Linked DNA regions of Homo sapiens: regions 1 and 2 are each linked to region 3. The links are contacts of gene promoters, found by promoter capture Hi-C in human tissues and cell types (Jung and others, 2019). All regions are on one chromosome and are shown on one strand. The core of a region is centred on a gene start or on the middle of the fragment in contact, and the rest is flanking DNA. Distances in the headings are between cores, read along the strand shown. Region 1 overlaps SCAI (suppressor of cancer cell invasion). Region 2 overlaps MAPKAP1 (MAPK associated protein 1). Region 3 holds the start of HSPA5 (heat shock protein family A (Hsp70) member 5).

Region 1 (3,172 bases), core at 567-3,066, 260 kb after region 3:
AAATAGCCAACGTTGTACTTAGAGAAACACTAAAAGTATGTTCAATTAAAATAAGAAAAAGAGAATGCCTGTTACTATCATTATGATACACTATTACTTTTGTCCCAACTAGAAATTCATAACATTCCCCAAATAAAACAATAACAAGAGTTGTTCGGATTAGTAGAAGAGGACACAAAACAGTAAATATTGGAAAGAATGAGATGAAAACCACTAGTTGCAGACGGTATGATTTTATATTTGGAAAATCAAGAGAATCACAGAAAAGCTACTAATATGAATATAAATTCATCAAAGTGGTTAGATATAGGACAAACATACAAAATTCAATAGCAACTTTATATATGAGCTATGTCTGGTTCAAATTTATTCATTTGTATATATTTGCTATAATTTTTCTTAAACTTAATAGCTTTGAATCGTACACTTCATCTGTGTGGGCAGTTATGATATATTCTGCAAAAACTTGCAAATAAAGATTATAAGATTATCCTATGGGAGTTAAACTATAAAATTAATTAATGAATAGATCAGAACAGAGTAAAGCCACATGTAAAGCACCTTAAAGAAACTATTTCTCAGGCCTAAAATTTAATTATAATCTGATAGAAGGTATTCATGTATTTATGTCAGAGGTCTCCAAGATGATTCCCAGGTTCAGTGATTTCCTAGGAAGATTCACAGGACTCGGCATATAGTCGTACTCACTGCTAAGATTTAGTACAGTAAAAGGATACAGAGCAAAACCAGCAAAAGAAAAAGATAAGTGGGGTGAGTTTGGAGAAAACCAAGTACAAACTTCCAGGGGCCCTCTTCCAGCGGAGTCACACAGGATACACTTAATTACCCAACCAACAAGTTGTGACAACATGGATTAAATATTATCTACCAGCAAAGCTCATTAGGAACTCAGCAACCAGGGTTTTTATTGGGAACTGGTCTTGTGGGCACTCTCTGCCTGGCTCTTAACAAAATGCTACACTCCCAGAAGGAAAGCAGGTGTTCAGTATAAACCATCTTGTTTGCACATTCTAGGGACAGCGAGCCACTCTTTATCAGTTCTGCTAATGGTAGGAATTTTCACCAAAACTAAGTTCCCAGAAGCCAGCCAGGGGCCAACCCAATAAGCAAAACTTTCGAAGGATGGCAGTCTGGCTTGCTATGCTAACTCTTCTCTGCACAGTATTATTGGGGGAAAAAAAAAAAAGTCAGGAGAGAAGTTCGTTAGCAAGGAGTGCAAAGAAAAAGGAGACCTTTAGAAATAAATAATAGCAATGTCCATTTTAGCACTATCTAAGAGGAAAAGCGACATGGCTAAGATCCCTAAAGCCATCTTTAGGGATCTGTAGTGCAGAAAATGCCTCAATCTGCCTTATCAAAAGAATCATTCAATTTACTCCCTGTGTTTGGATTACAAAATATTTCTAATATATCTGAATTACTTGCTTAATTTTTTTTTTTTTTTTTTGAGACGGAGTCTTGCTCTGTCACCCAGGCTGGAGTGCAGTGGTCCGATCTCAGCTCACTGCAACCTCTGCCTCCCAGGTTCATGCCATTCTCCTGCCTCAGCCTCCCGAGTAGCTGGGACTACAGGCACCTGCCACCATGCCCGGCTAATTTTTTTGTGTTTTTAGTAGAGATGGGGTTTCACCGTGTTAGCCAGGATGGTCTCGATCACCCGACCTCGTGATCCGCCCGCCTGGGCCTCCCAGAGTGCTGGGATTACAGGCGTGAGCCACCGCGCCCAGCCTATTTGCTTAATATTTTTAGTACTGGTATTACATTCACAAAGTCACAGAATCAAAAATTTCAAGAAGTCATATTGTGAAATCTCTTCCTCCCGCCTAGTCCCAATGCACTAAATTCCTATCTCTCCCTATAGATAATCACTGTTACCTGTTTCTTATCCTTTTAGAAAAAAAGTTGTAAATGGATATACAAACTAAAACAAATAGTCTTTTTTTTATTTTTATTTTTTGAGATGGAGTCTTCATCTGTTGCCCAGGCTAGGGTACAGTGACATGATCTTGGCTCACTGCAACCTCCGCCTCCTGGGTTCTAGCAATTCTCCTGCCTCAGCCTACCTAGTAGCTGGGATTACAAGCACACGCCACCATGCCCGGCTAATTTTTGTATTTTTAGTAGAGATGGGCTTTCACCATGTTGGTCAGGTCGGTCTCAAATTCCTGACTCAAATGATCTGCCTGCCCTTGGCCTCTCAAAGTGCTGGGATTACAGGCATGAGACACACCATGCCCAGCCAAGAAATAGTCTTTAGTTTTCTTAGTTATATAAATAGTAGTAACATCTTGTACCACATTGCACCATATCTTTTTTCATTTAATAAGAAGTATTGAGGCTGGGCATGGTGGCTCACACTTGTAATCCCAGCACTTTGGGAGGCTGAGGCAGGCAGATCACTTGAGGTCAGGAGTTCAAGACCAGCCTGGTCAACATGGCGAAACCCCGTCTCTACTAAAAACACAAAAATTAGCCAGGCACAGTGGCATTCCCCTGTAATCCCAGCTACTCAGGAGGCTGAGGCACAAGAATCACTTGAACCTGGGCAGCGGAGGTTACAGTGAGCTGAGAGGTGGAGGTTGCACTCCAGCCTGGGCGACAGAGCGAAACTGTTTCAAAAAAAAAAGAAAAAAAGTATTGGTGACCCTTCATACCTGTTCATAAAGAACTTCTTTGTTCTTTTTTATAGCTGTTTATTATTCCATTGTATTATTGTAGCATAATTTATTGTACCAATCCTGTATTTCTGGTCATTTGGTTGTGTTATTTCCATTCCTTCACTATCACTAACAAGGCTTCAAGGAATAATTTAATACTTACGTTATTTTATTAGTTGCATAGTGTATCTATAGGGAAAATTTCTAGTTTGGGAATTTCTGTGTTAATATGCATTTGAGTGTAATAGATGCTGCCAAGTTAAATTGTCTTCTAAAGTGTTTATATCAATTTATACTCCTATTACCTACATATGAGTATTTCCCCACATTCTTGCCAACAGTGTATATTCTCAAACTTTTAGAAATTTTGCTTAACTGATAGGGTAAAAATGGAATTTTGAGATGGAGTCTCGCTCTGTCATCCAGGCTGGAGTGCAGTGGTGCGATCTTGGCTCCCTGCAGCCTCCGCTTCCCGGGTTCAAGTGACTCTCCTG
Region 2 (3,014 bases), core at 324-2,823, 280 kb before region 3:
CGCACCCGGCTAATTTTGTATTTTTAGTAGAGAAGGAATTTCTTCATGTTGGTCAGGCTGGTCTTGAACCCCCGACCTCAGGTGATCTGCCCACCTCAGCCTCCCAAAGTGCTGTGATTACAGGCGTGAGCCACCGCGCCCGGCCTCCTGTTACTTTTTCTAGCTCTCTGATAAGTTTCTTAACCTGTTTGAACTTCGTTTTCCTCATTTATGAATGAAAATAATAATAATGTCTTCTTCATAGCATTATTGTGAGAATTAAGCAGCGATCCTTGCAAAGCACCAAGGACCCAGTAAGTCTTTGCTGTTATTATCTTATCACTCAGTAAATGTTAGTCCTGTCCCCTCCTTTCAGTTTCAGTCATGAAACCTAGTCAGACTCACAATTTTGTGATCTAATGCTCTTTTTGTATGAATATGACTGCTTTGAGTTATAGTTCAAAAGAGACTCTAGCTGCTAAGGAACCCAGCTCAAATTGAGTCCATGTATTAGGTACAGCCCAGAATGTGTGCATCTGTCTGCGCAGCTGCTCATTTGGGCTTTTCCAGGGGTCCGAGGCCCCTTGTCAGAGCAGCAGAGCATCAGCAAGAACATAGGAGTGCACGTGTAGGAATGACCTAGCCTTCCTCTGGAGCACCCTGCATCTGGAGCAGGATATGCAGAAGGGTTAAAAGCTGGAGAAACTTTAGTCATAAATTTTCTTTTCAGCAGGACTTCCCAGGGAACATCTGACATTAGCAGAGAGGAAATGCTGATTGGCCTGGGAGTCAGCTGAAGGAGACAGGAACTGCAGTGGAAGCTGCTGGATTTACTGTTATTAGCAAGGCAAATGGAAAGCCAGCAGGGCAGCCCAGCTCCCAGATAATAGATCTAACAAGAAAGAAAACTCTGAGAAAGGAAAATGGCTGACAGCCACGTCTCCTCTTCTGCCATTTTTCCCATTGCTTTTACCTTTTTGTTTTGTTTGTAGCACAAAGAGAAGCAACATGTTCGGTTGTAAGTCACAATTGGCTTAAAATAAAACAGGATATATAATTCAGCTTCTTACCTGTTTAAGATAAGAAGCTTGAGAGTTGAACATGGCAAAATGTGCAAAATTGTATTAATGTATTAAGAAATAGTTGCTATTTATTGAGCACTTATGTGCCAAACTAAGTGCTTTACATGTGTTATCTCATTTAATCTGTATAATAACCACATGAGTTAGAAATTATCATCATTCCCCACTTAGAGATAAGGAACCAGTGCTTAGAGCACTTAAGTAATTTCCAAAGGTCTTATGAATTGGTGGTAGTGCTTGACCCCACCATCACTGTCCTACCAACCTAGTAGAAGGTACTGAGGTGAGAACTTAAATGGCTGTTATAAAGCTGGACAGGGTAGTGGTAATTAAAGTGCTGGGAGTGTATTTAGGGCAACCTAAATCTATGCTCCTAGGTTGCAGTCCTCAAGCCTGGCCTCTTTACTTACGTAAAAAAATAAAAAATAAATAAATAAATAAGTACTCACCAAGGCTTGTGTTCTGACTTGAAACACAAACCTCAGTTGGCACAATGGTTATTAGAAGGAAGATGGGGCAGGCAGAGAGAAGCCCTGTTGACAGGTGGAGCCAATCTCTGAAGGATCTGGCCCCCACAGCAGGGAACAGGGCAGATGGGCAGTCAGCAGTGGGGGGCCATAAGGACAGCGGGGGAACTGCAGGTCCTGGCAGCAAGGACCAGGGAAGCAGATGATGCTCAGCACCTGGGGGTGGCCGTACCAAGAGCCACAGCTTATCCAGGGTTAGATCACAAAGGCAACAGGTGAGTAAAAATCCCATTGTCAAAATTACCTGTGGGAAAGAAAAATCTCTTTAAAAATGCCCATCAGAGGCAATGTAATTTTTCTCATTAAATTCACACAGCTTTTTTCTCTAGCATCGTAACAGCTAAAAGTACATATTTTTAAATGCTAAAATCAAACTTGGTCTAGAAAGACTGAGATACTATCATCCACCCATTTAATGCAGTTAGTCACTTATCACACATTTACAAGGTTCCATAGTTGCAAAGATGATTTCTGGACTCCTGCCTCATATTCCCACTCTTGGGGCTCATTGGATCACTGAGAGTCATGGCAAGTGGAATTCTCCCAACTGCTTAAATTGTGCTCTTGGTCAGGTCTCCCTCTTTTTTTCCTCTTTTCTACCTAGCAAGTATGGTTGAATTCAGATAAATTAAATGTATGATTTATGCACAAGGAAATCCAGGCGGGCAGGCAGTATCAGAGGGCAGGGCAGGATTTTCAGAGAGACACACTGGGAACCTAGCATGGCACCAGGCCTGAGGGCAGGGTTCTGGGCAGGATTGGGCCAGGAGCAAGGACAGTTAACTGAATGAGATGTAAAGGCCAAGGCTAGAGTTTTTAAAAAGGAAGCCCTGTTTTTGGTTGGCTGGGGATTGTAGAAATCCTATTGCCTTGAAGACGTTAACTGGTGCAACTTTCCCTATTGTGGGGAAAGGAAGGAGGCCAGTCTGGGACTCTGGTTGGGCCTGATATCATGGGGTCAGAAGGAGAGAAGATAAGACTTAGGGGATAATCAAAAAGGAGGGATGTGATTTTGACAAGCTGACGGAGTCAGTCTGGGTGAAGGGAAGGGCACAGCAGTGACATGGAGGTAGGAAACCAGGACATATATGCACTGAACAGTGAGTCTAGTTTGGGTCATAAAGGACATAGATGGACAAGAAATTAGGATGGATAGAAAGCCTTGAGAGTGGGGTAAGGAATTTGCATCTAAACTAGTAGCCTGCAAGGAAGTTGTGAAGGGATTGTATGAAAGTGATACCTTGAATCTACCAGAATTTGGCTCTGGAGAGCACTCTAACAATAGGGTGAAGAGTGGTTGGCTGGAGGCCAGAAGAAGGTTGGGAAACCATTACTGCGGCCTGAGTGAGAAGGAATGCAAGGGAGATGTATTAAGTGGGTAGAGTCTGCAGAACTTGGGAGCCGATTTAATGTCATCAACAAGGGG
Region 3 (2,995 bases), core at 86-2,585:
GAGATTGCACTACTGAACTCCAGCCTGGGCGTGACAGAGTGATACTCCGTCTTGAAAAAAAAAAAAGTATTGGCAATAGAGTGAACTCCACCTGGTTATCAATCCTAACTCCATCACTCACCAGCTCTGTGACTTGTTTAGTTATTTAATCTTTTTCAGTTTCAATGTCCTCATCTGGAAAACGGGAAATGCCTACCGAGTATTGAACTGTCAAGACTAAATGACACATGAAAAGCACACTGAACAATGCTTAATCCACGGTAGGCTTTCAGCAAATAGTGGTCTCTATTATTTTTTGCAACAGGATGTTATATAAGAATAAGGCATTATCAAGACGATTTTCGCCTATCAAATGTGTTGTCTGCGTGTACATCAGACCTTTTCCTGGAATGAAGGTAGAAAAGTATCAACAATAAAGGATGGAGAAAGCCCCGTAAATGATAACCTTTGCCCCAGAGGGAAAGGATGGGCAGCGGAGGGGAAAGTAAAGGGTGGCAAGCTAGAAAAATTAGACATCCAGTGTGGGAGGGCTGGCACTGGAGTGGGTTGCCACAGTAGGGAGGGGACTCAGAGCTGGAGGCAATTCCTTTGGCCGGGCTTGTCCTGCGACTTACCGTGGGGCAGCGCAATGTGGAGAGGCCTGGTAAAATGGCTGGGCAAGGGTGCGGAGGGGACATAACTGGCAGGAAGGAGTCATGATTCGTGGTCGAACAGAGTCCAGACCAGCTCGACCTGTGAGCAACGAACGGCCCTGAGACTCGCATACCCCAATACCGGTAGTGGCCGTGAAGGGCAAAGAAATGTGTTCTGAGGCGATCCCAGCATCTAAGCTGCGACTGGTCTACTCAGAGACTGGATGGAAGCTGGGAAGAGAAAGCTGCTTCCCGCTTCGGGGTGAGGGATGGAGGAAGGGAGAACAAGCAGTAGAGAAGAAAAAGTTTCAGATCCCACAGCCCCGGGGGGTCACTCCTGCTGGACCTACTCCGACCCCCTAGGGCCGGGAGTGAAGGCGGGACTTGTGCGGTTACCAGCGGAAATGCCTCGGGGTCAGAAGTCGCAGGAGAGATAGACAGCTGCTGAACCAATGGGACCAGCGGATGGGGCGGATGTTATCTACCATTGGTGAACGTTAGAAACGAATAGCAGCCAATGAATCAGCTGGGGGGGGCGGAGCAGTGACGTTTATTGCGGAGGGGGCCGCTTCGAATCGGCGGCGGCCAGCTTGGTGGCCTGGGCCAATGAACGGCCTCCAACGAGCAGGGCCTTCACCAATCGGCGGCCTCCACGACGGGGCTGGGGGAGGGTATATAAGCCGAGTAGGCGACGGTGAGGTCGACGCCGGCCAAGACAGCACAGACAGATTGACCTATTGGGGTGTTTCGCGAGTGTGAGAGGGAAGCGCCGCGGCCTGTATTTCTAGACCTGCCCTTCGCCTGGTTCGTGGCGCCTTGTGACCCCGGGCCCCTGCCGCCTGCAAGTCGGAAATTGCGCTGTGCTCCTGTGCTACGGCCTGTGGCTGGACTGCCTGCTGCTGCCCAACTGGCTGGCAAGATGAAGCTCTCCCTGGTGGCCGCGATGCTGCTGCTGCTCAGCGCGGCGCGGGCCGAGGAGGAGGACAAGAAGGAGGACGTGGGCACGGTGGTCGGCATCGACCTGGGGACCACCTACTCCTGGTAAGTGGGGTTGCGGATGCAGGGGGACGGGGCGTGGCCGCCTGGCCTGGCGTGAGAAGTGCGGTGCTGATGTCCCTCTGTCGGGTTTTTCTGCCAGCGTCGGCGTGTTCAAGAACGGCCGCGTGGAGATCATCGCCAACGATCAGGGCAACCGCATCACGCCGTCCTATGTCGCCTTCACTCCTGAAGGGGAACGTCTGATTGGCGATGCCGCCAAGAACCAGCTCACCTCCAACCCCGAGAACACGGTCTTTGACGCCAAGCGGCTCATCGGCCGCACGTGGAATGACCCGTCTGTGCAGCAGGACATCAAGTTCTTGCCGTTCAAGGTTCGACCGGGTTTTTCTCATCCAGTTAGAGAACGGGTGGGTGGTGGGAGTATTTAGAGTTATAAGTCTCTGGAAAAGTGTTGAGACAACAGTTGAAGGTTATAGACATGATGTATGTAATAACTTTAATACTATTAGTATGTTACAAAACTTAAGACAGTTGCTGTCGTACTGTCTACGATAGTTTAGGAATAAAAGACCGATTAAAACTGAACTTTGTAAGACACCTATACTCCCTGAAGTATTTCTAGTCAATTTGCAGCCCCAAGGGACCAAAATAAACCAAATTGTGGGGATGGTAGTGGGTCTTTTAAACTTTGAGATGTCATTGTATCTGTGTCTGAAAACAATAATTCTTTAAAATAGGTGGTTGAAAAGAAAACTAAACCATACATTCAAGTTGATATTGGAGGTGGGCAAACAAAGACATTTGCTCCTGAAGAAATTTCTGCCATGGTTCTCACTAAAATGAAAGAAACCGCTGAGGCTTATTTGGGAAAGAAGGTAAATATTTCTAGAACAATGTTAAGTATTTTTTGATCATTAGTATTCTCGGTTGGCTGTTATGTATAGAAGCCTTCGTGAAGGGTTTCAAAAATTTTAATCAGAATGGTATTCATGCTTGTCAGGTTTAATTATTGAGTCCCTTACTATAAGCCAAACAAAATAGACTTTTCATGTATTATTTAATGCTTACAATTCCAGGGACATAAAATTTTATATGTTGTATTCATCAATAAGTTGGCTTAAAAACTAAAGTGATGGTTTGACTGTAATTTTTTTTTTTTGAGATGGAGTCTTGCTCTGTTGCCCAGGCTGGACTGCAGTGGCACGATCTCAGCTCACTGCAACCTCTGCCTCCCGGGTTCAAGCAGCTCTCCTGCCTCAGCCTCCCAAGTAACTGGAACTACAGGCACACCACCACACCTGGCTAATTTTTTTTTTTTTTTTTAATTTTCAGTAGAGACAGGGTTTCTCCACATTGCCCAGGCT

Evidence for each region. Contacts are between HindIII fragments. The study calls those that stand out against the background at their distance.
Region 1: a fragment that was not itself captured here is called in contact with the fragment with the promoter of HSPA5 in region 3 in 1 of the 25 tissues and cell types used here (mesenchymal stem cells).
Region 2: a fragment that was not itself captured here is called in contact with the fragment with the promoter of HSPA5 in region 3 in 1 of the 25 tissues and cell types used here (mesenchymal stem cells).

Annotation. Positions count from the first base shown.
Region 1 is chr9:124,978,346-124,981,517 of GRCh38, reverse strand. The region is part of intron 14 of SCAI (suppressor of cancer cell invasion); the gene reads left to right. Among named protein-coding and RNA genes, the nearest start is that of GOLGA1, 39 kb to the right of the region's middle. The HindIII fragment of the contact is 5,236 bases long and covers 1-3,172 here.
Region 2 is chr9:125,522,523-125,525,536 of GRCh38, reverse strand. All of the region lies in intron 7 of MAPKAP1 (MAPK associated protein 1), which reads left to right. Among named protein-coding and RNA genes, the nearest start is that of MAPKAP1, 180 kb to the left of the region's middle. The HindIII fragment of the contact is 6,094 bases long and covers 1-3,014 here.
Region 3 is chr9:125,239,683-125,242,677 of GRCh38, reverse strand. HSPA5 (heat shock protein family A (Hsp70) member 5) reads left to right here and starts at 1,335. Exons shown (of 8, transcript NM_005347.5): 1 at 1,335-1,673; 2 at 1,771-2,002; 3 at 2,369-2,506. The coding sequence starts at 1,552. HSPA5-DT (HSPA5 divergent transcript) reads right to left here and starts at 1,022. Exons shown (of 3, transcript NR_186826.1): 1 at 615-1,022. RefSeq lists enhancers at 737-1,046, 696-1,200, 1,014-1,308, 1,201-1,705, 1,847-1,926. The HindIII fragment of the contact is 17,872 bases long and covers 1-2,995 here.